Regions from separate parts of the Homo sapiens genome. Here region 2 is linked to region 1. The links are contacts of gene promoters, found by promoter capture Hi-C in human tissues and cell types (Jung and others, 2019). All regions are on one chromosome and are shown on one strand. Each heading gives the region's core, a stretch centred on a gene start or on the middle of the fragment in contact. The rest is flanking DNA. Distances are from core to core; before and after follow the strand shown. Region 1 holds the start of COL7A1 (collagen type VII alpha 1 chain). Region 2 overlaps KIF9-AS1 (KIF9 antisense RNA 1).

The links. The method cuts DNA at HindIII sites, captures the fragments that hold promoters and counts their contacts. A contact is called where the count stands out against the background at its distance.
Region 2: a contact is called between a fragment that was not itself captured here and the fragment with the promoter of COL7A1 in region 1, in 1 of the 25 tissues and cell types used here (lymphoblastoid cells).

What each region holds. Positions count from the first base shown.
Region 1 is chr3:48,593,942-48,598,364 of GRCh38, forward strand. COL7A1 (collagen type VII alpha 1 chain) reads right to left here and starts at 1,388. Exons shown (of 119, transcript NM_000094.4): 1 at 1,327-1,388; 2 at 1,134-1,219; 3 at 427-607. The coding sequence starts at 1,218. The HindIII fragment of the contact is 15,548 bases long and covers 1-4,423 here.
Region 2 is chr3:47,200,431-47,204,926 of GRCh38, forward strand. All of the region lies in intron 2 of KIF9-AS1 (KIF9 antisense RNA 1), which reads left to right. Among named protein-coding and RNA genes, the nearest start is that of KIF9-AS1, 38 kb to the left of the region's middle. The HindIII fragment of the contact is 8,939 bases long and covers 1-4,496 here.

The sequences.
Region 1 (4,423 bases), core at 138-2,637:
GTGGGGAACAAGATGCTGCTTAATTAAATAATTGCAGGAGGAGGGGTCCAGATGTAGGAAAGTGGATGCTGGCCAGATGGAGCACCTCTGGTGAACGGCTGCAAGGGTTAGAGGGCTAGAACGTGGAGAATCCAACAGGCGTGGGGGCCCCCTCCTGGGCTCCCCATCTCCAGATCAGAAAACACAGCCTCACTGTCTTGCACCTTCCTGTCTTGCAGTAGCCTGGAGGTGCCTCAGGGCACGAAGGTTCTACCTAGGGAATCCTTACCTCTGTCTCCAAAGGAGGTCCTGGCTAGGGGGTCTCTAGGTTCCCCAAAACTTGTTTCTGCAAAGACCTGGCCTGGGGTTTCCAGGGTCTCCTCCCTCTCTGGGGAAGGAGTCTTGGTGGGGATCTCGTGGTCCCCAGCCCCCAGGGCCCCTACTCACCGTGGGTCATCGCTGTACTGCACTGTGGCAAAGCGCACACCCTGTGCACTGGCTGCTCCAGAGAAAGGCAGCACCAGCCCTTCGAGAAAGCTGCGGACCTCGCGGAAATTGCTGCGGCCAATGGATGAGGAGCCATCCAGTAAGAACACAATGTCAGCGGCGTAAAGGCGCGTGCAGGTCACTGGGGCGGGCAGGAGAGATCAGGGCCTCTTCTGGGAGGCCAACCACCCGCCTACCCGCACGGTGGCCTCACTGGGACTTGGGATGGTGGGGAGAGTAGGCCTCATCTTATGCAAACCAGGGCCGAATCGGCCTGAGCCTGAGGGCCTTGGAGGGAGTTGAGCTCGGTGGGTCCCAGAGCAGACTCCCGCGGAGGGTTGGGGGTGTGCGGGGGAGGGAGAGTCGCCAGCACGGGTGTGGACTTGGGACTGAGGTCAGCCTCTAGGGGCCGGCGTGGATTGGCATAAGGCAGGGGACCCCGCACGCATCCAGGGAGCCAGAATTTGGGTAGGAACAGGATAGGAGGCGGTTTAGGGAACCCAGCACCGATCGCGGAGGGTTCGGGGAGTCCCAGAATTAGGAGGAATCCGCGGGGCGTCGTGGAGTTGGCTGGGTTGTGGGCGGGGGGTGTTGGGGATGAAGGCCGAGTGGAGCGGAGGGTGGCACGGTGCAGTGCCCCGGGCCGGGTCCTCCCTTGCGGTGCCCACCTCTCTCCCTGTGCTGGGCTCGCACTCGGGGCGCCTCTGCCAGGATCCCGGCGCAGAGCGCGGCCACCAGAAGCCGCAGCGTCATCCTAGGCAGTAAAAGCCGTCAGCTAGGACCCCCGCCTCTGTCCCTTGCTCCCCCGTGGCCTTGGCAGGTCCGAGCCCAGCGCCCCTCCAGCCCGAGTCCTGGTCTTGCCTGCGCGTCCGCCCGCTCCCGCCGCCGCCGCTGCAGTCTCTCGGGCAGAGCAGAGAAAAGTCCCTGATCTCGGGGGGCGGAGCGGCAGGCGGGAACCCAGGCACCCGCCCTCACCCATATCCCTGAGAGGTCGCCGCCCCCCCCACCCCTCCCCCAGACAAACGATATGACGCACTTAACTATAAACCCCCCGACCCCCCGTGGCTTCTGGGAATTTCCCAGAAGGTTCTGCATGGGCAGATGCTGAGGGAGTACCCCTAACTCCATCTAAGGTCACAGGTCTTGGCTGCTTTAGGTCAATCACAGTGACCAGGCTGAGGAGTGGACAGGTTCCTGCAGAGCCACAAGGCAGCAGCGCCGTGGGGGGTGGGGCTGCAGTTGGGGATGACTCACCCCCAATCCAGTGGGGGTGCCCAGACAAGCCCTCAGGCCATGGGTCCCGCCGGCCACTCCTGTGATTCAGCCATCTGTCTGGTGGGCCTCCTGGGCCCCACCCGGATCTCCTTGACAGGCAAGAAGCCCTGGCAAATGAGTGACTCTGGGCCGGTCTTAGGGAAACCAAGGTCCCCTTGGCCTGGATCCAAGTAACTCACCCCCTCTTTGTAGGGGATAAGCCGGAAGGAGGAGAGAACCTGTGTCATGCTTATGCATACATCCCAGTGTCCCACATCCCCTACCATGTCACAGGCAGATGCAATCCAGCTGTGCCTGCAGGGAGGGGGCCGCCCATCTGTGGAGGGCGGGACCACCCACAGTGACAGCTCATCTCTCAGGAATCGAGCCCTCCATGCCCCAGGCCAGGTCCCCCTACCTACATGTCCTCACCCACAGGCATCCTCTCCTTCCATCTACTTTTCTTGTAGGTCCCTGCCACCCATCTCCCCTACCAGGCCGAGGTCCCCTTGGGCCCCTTCCTCCTTTCCTCACTGCCCTCATGGTACCTGTAGCTTCCAGCTTCATAACTGCCCCCTACCTTACTCCTGTCCCCTTACCCAGGCTGACTTCACACCCTCCCCCAGCTTCGCTTCTGAGGCTGTGGACAGTCCTCCAACACACACCACGCCAGGGCCACTGTCCGAAGGAGGTGGGGCTCTGTATATGCATATCTCTCCATTAGATGGGTGACACTAAGGCAGAGAGGCACTGCTAAGAAGGGCAGGCCCCCATCTGGGTCCTGCTCCCCCTTTTTTTCCTGCTAATCCTGAATAACTCTGGGCAGCCCAGAAAGCACATCTATACTCACCAAGGCTGCTGGGCCCCTTCTAATATGCCCGGCCCCACAGCCTCCCCTGGGATCCACAGGGAGATATGGGGACAGCACTGGCTGGACTCCTCCACAGCCCGAGGACTCTGGTGTGGCCAGAGCTGGAGGCAGTGAAGACCATCCATGCTGCCTGCTTTCCTATTGCCCAAGGAAGGCTGGGGCTCTATCCCTTATTACTGACCCCCCAAACTATCCTGGGGCATAGTGCTATGACCTTATTCCAAGGTCAGGGTCTCCTCAGCCATGTCCCAGGACCCCCCATCCCTGCAAGGTGTGCTCCAGGTGGGGGGCTGCAGAGAACCAGGTATGTTATCACACAGGCAGCCCCTTCCCCCTAAGACTGTCACCTCCTCCCGTGCAGCCAGGGCGGGCAAGAGCAGGCCAGTGGCATGGACAGTACGGTACAGACATATGTGCACACGTGGGCCAGTCTTAGGGGAGACAGGAGGCCCAGCTGGGAGGGTGGGTGCTCAGGCAAACCTCATCAGAATTGAGGTGCCTCCAAAAGAAAGGACAGGCTGCTGTGAGAGGGTCTCTCAAAGGGTGCTGGGAGAGGCTGTTGAGAAGGTAGGAGTAAGGTTGGAATGACTCCACGTCTGGAGCTTCTATGAGACTCACGAGCAGGAGTGTGGCCCTCTGAAGCCCCAGCTCTGGCCTCCTGGGAGGAACACAGCCTAGGGCACAGCCCGAGGCCAGTGCCTACCTGCAACCCCATCAGGGCGGTGGAGCCCCCAGAGCACATCCTTCTCCCTCCCAAGCTTTCCCTGAACATTTCCTTCCCTGGCCTCAGTCACTACCTCACCCCATCTGTTTCCAACCAGGGCCTCTTTATCAGGTCCCAGCCCCACACATCCCACTGTACCCTGGACACCACCAAACTCCTCACTGGACTATGGAAGATTACCCTCCTCCAACCCACTCGTGCCTCCGCGTCTCCCAGCCCTGCTGGGAATGTAGTCCTCTTTGTGTCCCCTACAGCTGGCTCCAGTTCGTGTGGCCATGACCTCTGTTCTGCCACAGCACAGCTCACCAAGACTGATACAGAAATATGGCCTGAGAGTCCCCATGCTGAATCTCAACTCTGACCAAGTCACTTCTCTTCACAGTAACCTCCAACACACCTCCCCAGCATGGCTCCAGGGTAAAGACCAGAGTCCCTGGCTTGGTACGCAAGGTCCCTTAGAACCAGACCACTCCCAGCAACTCAAGCTCTCGTGTCCAGCACACCTGTAGCCTCTAAGGGCCAGGCTGGGCTTAGAAATGAAGCCCCATCCTCCAGGAGCTCAAACTTGACAACAGACTTGGCACTTGTTCCCCTGCCTGGGTGTTGCACCTCCATGAGCACCCAGGGTTGGGCCTGTCAGGGTTCTGCGCTGCCCAGCATCTTCTCTCCAGCCGTTCACAAAGTAGAATGATCTGCGCAATGCCCCAGTCCCGGGCCGTAGAAGGTGCTTAACAAATGTCTCCGAATTGGCAACGTATGGCAACCAATGGTGAGGGAAAGGCAGTGGGGCAGGGTGATAGTGATACAAGGGTTCCTTGGGCTACTTCCAAGCTACGATGCTGGGGGGACTTCTGAACAGCCATCTTCTAAAAGACCTTGTCCCAGCACCCTGCTTGTGACTGCCAGGCAGCGACTTCCTCAAAGGAAAATTGGGCCCCTCGCTTTCAACTTCCCCCTGGGATCCCAGAGAACCTGACTGTGGAAGCACTGGGGGGTGCAGGAGGAGCAGCCTACCTGCGCACCCACCATGGGGACCAGAGCCAAAAGAGATAACAGAGGGACTAGGTAGCTAAGAGCTGTACCAGGTCCTGGCTGCCTCAGGAAAATGG
Region 2 (4,496 bases), core at 842-3,341, 1.4 Mb before region 1:
CATTTGGCTTCCAATAACCTTTATCAAATTATTTCTGCCTCAGCAACCTTAATTTTGGTTGGCAAAATGACATAGGTGGCAGGATTTCAGAGTGACCTCCCTAGACCAAAAGCAGCTTCCAGCCTTTGTGCATGTACGGGCAACAAATCCACTGTGTTCCCGAACTTGGATGCCCTGCTGGGCTACAGGTGAGTTTCTACCAAAATCAGGCTGGGCACAGTGGCTCATGCTTGTAATTCCAGCACTTTGGGAGGCTGAGGCAGTCAGCTCACTTGACCCCAGCAGTTCAAGACCAGCCTGGGCAACATAGTGAAACTCCGTCTCTACAAAACGTACAAAAATTAGCTGAGTGGGGCCAGGCACAGTGGCTCACGTCTGTAATCCCAACACTTTGGGAGGCTGAGGCGGGCGGATCATGAGGTCAGGAGTTCAAGACCAGCCTGGCCAACATGGCGAAACCCCATCTCTACTAAAAATACAAAAATTAGCGGGGCATGGTGGTGCGTGCCTGTAATCCCAGCTACTCGGGAGGCTGAAGCAGGAGAATTGCTTGAACCCAGGAGGCGGAGGTTGCAGTGAGCCAAGACCGCACCACTGCACTCCAGCCTGGGGACAGAGCGAGACTCCGTCTAAAAAAAAAAAAAAAGCTGAGTTTAGTGGCATGGGCCTCTAGTCCCAGCTACTTGGGAGGATCTCTTGAGGCCGGAAGGTCAAGGCTGCCATGAGCTGTGATGGAGCCACTGTATTCCAGTCTGAGCAACAGGGCAAGATCCTGTTTCCAAAAAAAAAAAAAAAAAAATTCAATGAACTTCGTGTCTTCGTCAAAGTTCTGTTTGTTTTGTTTTGTTTTCAGACAGGGTTTCACTATGCTGTCCAGGCTGGAGTGCAATGGTGTGATCTCAGCTCACTGCAACCTCTGCCTCCTAGGCTCCAGAGATCCTTCTTCCTTAGTCTCCTGTGTAGCTGGGGACCACAGGTGCATACCACCATGCCTGGCTAATTAGTTGAGGTCCTGGTTTATTGAAGCTAGTTTCCTCCTTGGCTAGGAGGTACAATGACTCTCTCAGAATCAGAGTTACTGCTGTGAATTCAAGGCAAGAGTTTCTGTTGAATTCTAGGCTAGGATAAAATGGGACCTCTGTAAATTGTCTCACTGGGGTTTTGGTGTGAGACAACTTTTCCTTAGCTTCCTCCTTTTTCAATTGCATGAGCGTGCTCTTGCTCCACTACATAGCTTGTTTCATTCAAAACAACCAGGATGGAAAAGGGGTCCTCTAAAACTGAAGATGCGCCAGCTAGGTTTTATGAATAATGTTTATGGGTCCTTCTACTTACCTAACCCAGATTGGTTATAAAACAGCAATGGCCAAAATGGGGATCTTTTGAATGTGCCTAAAATAATTTATTTGCACGCATAATTAGAAAAGCTGGTTATAGAACCAAATAGAATGGGAGACTTAATTCCAATAACACCTAAAAGCTTTTAAGATACATTCTAAAAAAAAATTTGCCCCATTCAAAAGGTAAATATATTTAAAATTATTTCTTACAGATGATGAAACTGAGGCAAACAAAAAAGAAAAATAAAGAAAACTATTTCTAAATTGAAAAAGACTTTGGAGGTTTTCTCCCTTTTGCCTCCAACTGCTCCTCCTCCTTCGATCCCTGTGATATGAACGCATCCCTTTCTACTGGTTCCCTTGGCTCCCATACATCTCTTAGGCAGAGAGTTTTAGAATTTCACAATGTGCATATTTCTTTCTCTCAATAGGTTAAAATATTAATTAAATTTGGAACAAAAAGAACAAACAGAACAACTACAAAACACAAAACTGCTGATATTCAGATCCAACAAATTTTTCTAAACTGACAATAAGAAACAAAATGATGCCAGGCGCGGTGGTTCACGTCTATAACCTAAGCACTTTGAGAGGCTGAGGCAGGAGGATTGCTTGAGCTCAGGAGTTCAAGACTAGCCTGGGTAACATGGTGGCTTTTGTTGTTGTTGTTGTTGTTTCCCAAAAAAAAAGAAAAGCAAAAGAAAAAATAGCTAGGCGTGGTGGCACACACCTGTGGTCTCAGGTACTTGGGAGGCTGAGATGGGAGGATTGCTTGAGCCCCAGGAGGTCGAGGCTGCAGTGAGGTGAAGGCTGCAGTAAGCAGTGATTTCAACACGTAACCTGGATGACGGAGTGAGACCCTGTCTCAAAAGAAAAAAAAAATCTGTTTCTGTTTAAAACTTACCAGATTTATATCTAAAAAATTCAGCTTTTTCTATGCCTCACTACATATGATTGACAGGTTACATACATCATTGTCTTCTGTTCCTTTTTTCCATAAAAAGGTATATCTTTTTGCTTAGCTGAGTTAACTCTCTCCTTCAACCTTTTTGTGAACTTTTTGTGTAACTTTTTCTACCCCTACTGTGATGGCTAATACTAAAACATTTGTCTTGAAGGTCTAAATAGGCAATGTTTTCCTCCAGTATAACTTGATTCTGTGTTCTAGGCTTTTCTTGATATATCTAAATTGTTCCACATAACCAAAAAACTTCCCATGCTGTTACTAAGAGCCATATATCCCACTGCTCAAGATACTAGTTTTCTTATTTACATTCCTTTATGATTTAATATACATTTATAACCCTAGACACACTCATCCTGGGTCTGATTAATGTGAGCACCCTCTTTTTTTTTTTTTTTTTTTTTTTTGACAAAGTCTCGCTCTTGTTGCCCAGGCTGGAGTGCAATGGTGCCATCTCGGCTCACTGCAACCTCTGCCTCCTGGGATCAAGCAATTCTCCTGCCTTAGCCTCCGGAGTAGCTGGGATCACAGGCACCCACCACCACGCCCGACTAATTTTTGTATTTTTAGTAGAGATGGGTTTCACCCTGTTGGCCAGGCTGGTCTCAAACTCCTGACCTCAGGTGATCTGCCAGCCTCGGCCTCCCTAACAGCTGGGATTACAGGCGTAAGCCACTACGCCAGGCCCACCCTCTTTTTTTTTTTTTTTTTTTTTTTAATGTTAAGTTTGACTTCCAGGTTATCTAAATGGGCTTCCCATTTAGTAGGGCAATTCCCATACAATTGCACTACAAGAGGTTTTTCTTTACCATTTTGGTAACTGGCCTCAAAACCAAATATTCTGCATTTTATCAAAATAACTTCTAGGCTGGTGGGGTGGCTCACACCTGTAATCGCAGCACTTTGGGAGGCCGAGGTGGGCGGATCACTTGAGGTCAGGAGTTTGAGACCAGCCTGGTCAACATGGTGAAACCCCGTCTCTACCAAAAATATAAAAAATTACCAAGTGTCGTGGAGTGCACCTGTAATTCCAGTTACTCGGGAGGCTGAGGCAGGCAAATCACTTGAACCCAGGAGACGGAGATTGTGGTGAGCCGAGATCGTGCCACTGTACTCCAGCCTGGATGACAGAGTGAGACTCCGTCTCAAAAAACAAACAAACAAAAACAACAAAAATAACTTCTAGGCTGGGCACTGTGGCTCACGTCTGTAATCCCAGAACTTTGGGAGACTGAAGCAGGAGGATCCCTTGAGTCTGGGAATTGGAGACCAGCCTGGGCAGCATAGGGAGACCCTGTCTCTACAAAGAATACAAAAATTAGCCAAGCATGGTGGTGTGTGCCTGTAGTCCCAGCTACTCAGGAGGCTGAGGTGGGAGGATCCCTTGAGCCCCAGGAGGCAAAGGTTGCAGTGAGCTGAGATCATGCCACTGCACTCCAGCCTGGGCAACAGAGAGAGAGAGAGAGACTCCATTTCAAAATAATAATAATAATAACAATAATAATAATTTCTGTATTATCTGTGTAGGTTTTTTGTGGGTTTTGTTGTTGTTTTTATTTTATTTTTGAGACAGGGTCTGGCTTGTTGCTCAGGCAGCAATGCAGTAACATGATCACAGCTTACTGCAGCCTCAAGCTCCTGGGCTCAAGTAATTTTCCCACTTAAGCCTTCCAAGTAGCTGGGACCACAGGTGCATGCCACCATGCCTGGGTAATTTTTGTTTAATTTTTTAAGAGATGGGGATCTCCCTATGTTGCCCAGGCTGGTCTCGAACTCCTGGGCTCAGCAATCCTCATGCTTTGGACTCCTGAAGTACTGGAATTACAGGTGTGAGCCACCAGGCCCAGCCATATAGTTCTATCTTGATCAAGTGTTTTAAGCCTTTTGACATCTTTTACAAATTTCTCCAAGATCAAAATCCTAAATTAAGTCTTTTAAACAATTCAACTTGTTTTGATAAATAATACTAAATCCTCTTTTAGTTACATCTAATGGGTATGTTATTAATATAAATGTTCTTAAAATTATATAAATTCATAAAAATCTAATGTTATCAGTCATAATTTTAATTATGTTAAATATTTTCTAAAGTTACATAGATATATCATTAATATAACTATTCTAAAGGTCATATAACATTTATAAAGGTCTAATAGTCCTGATGTGATATTGTCAGTCATAATTCTAATTTT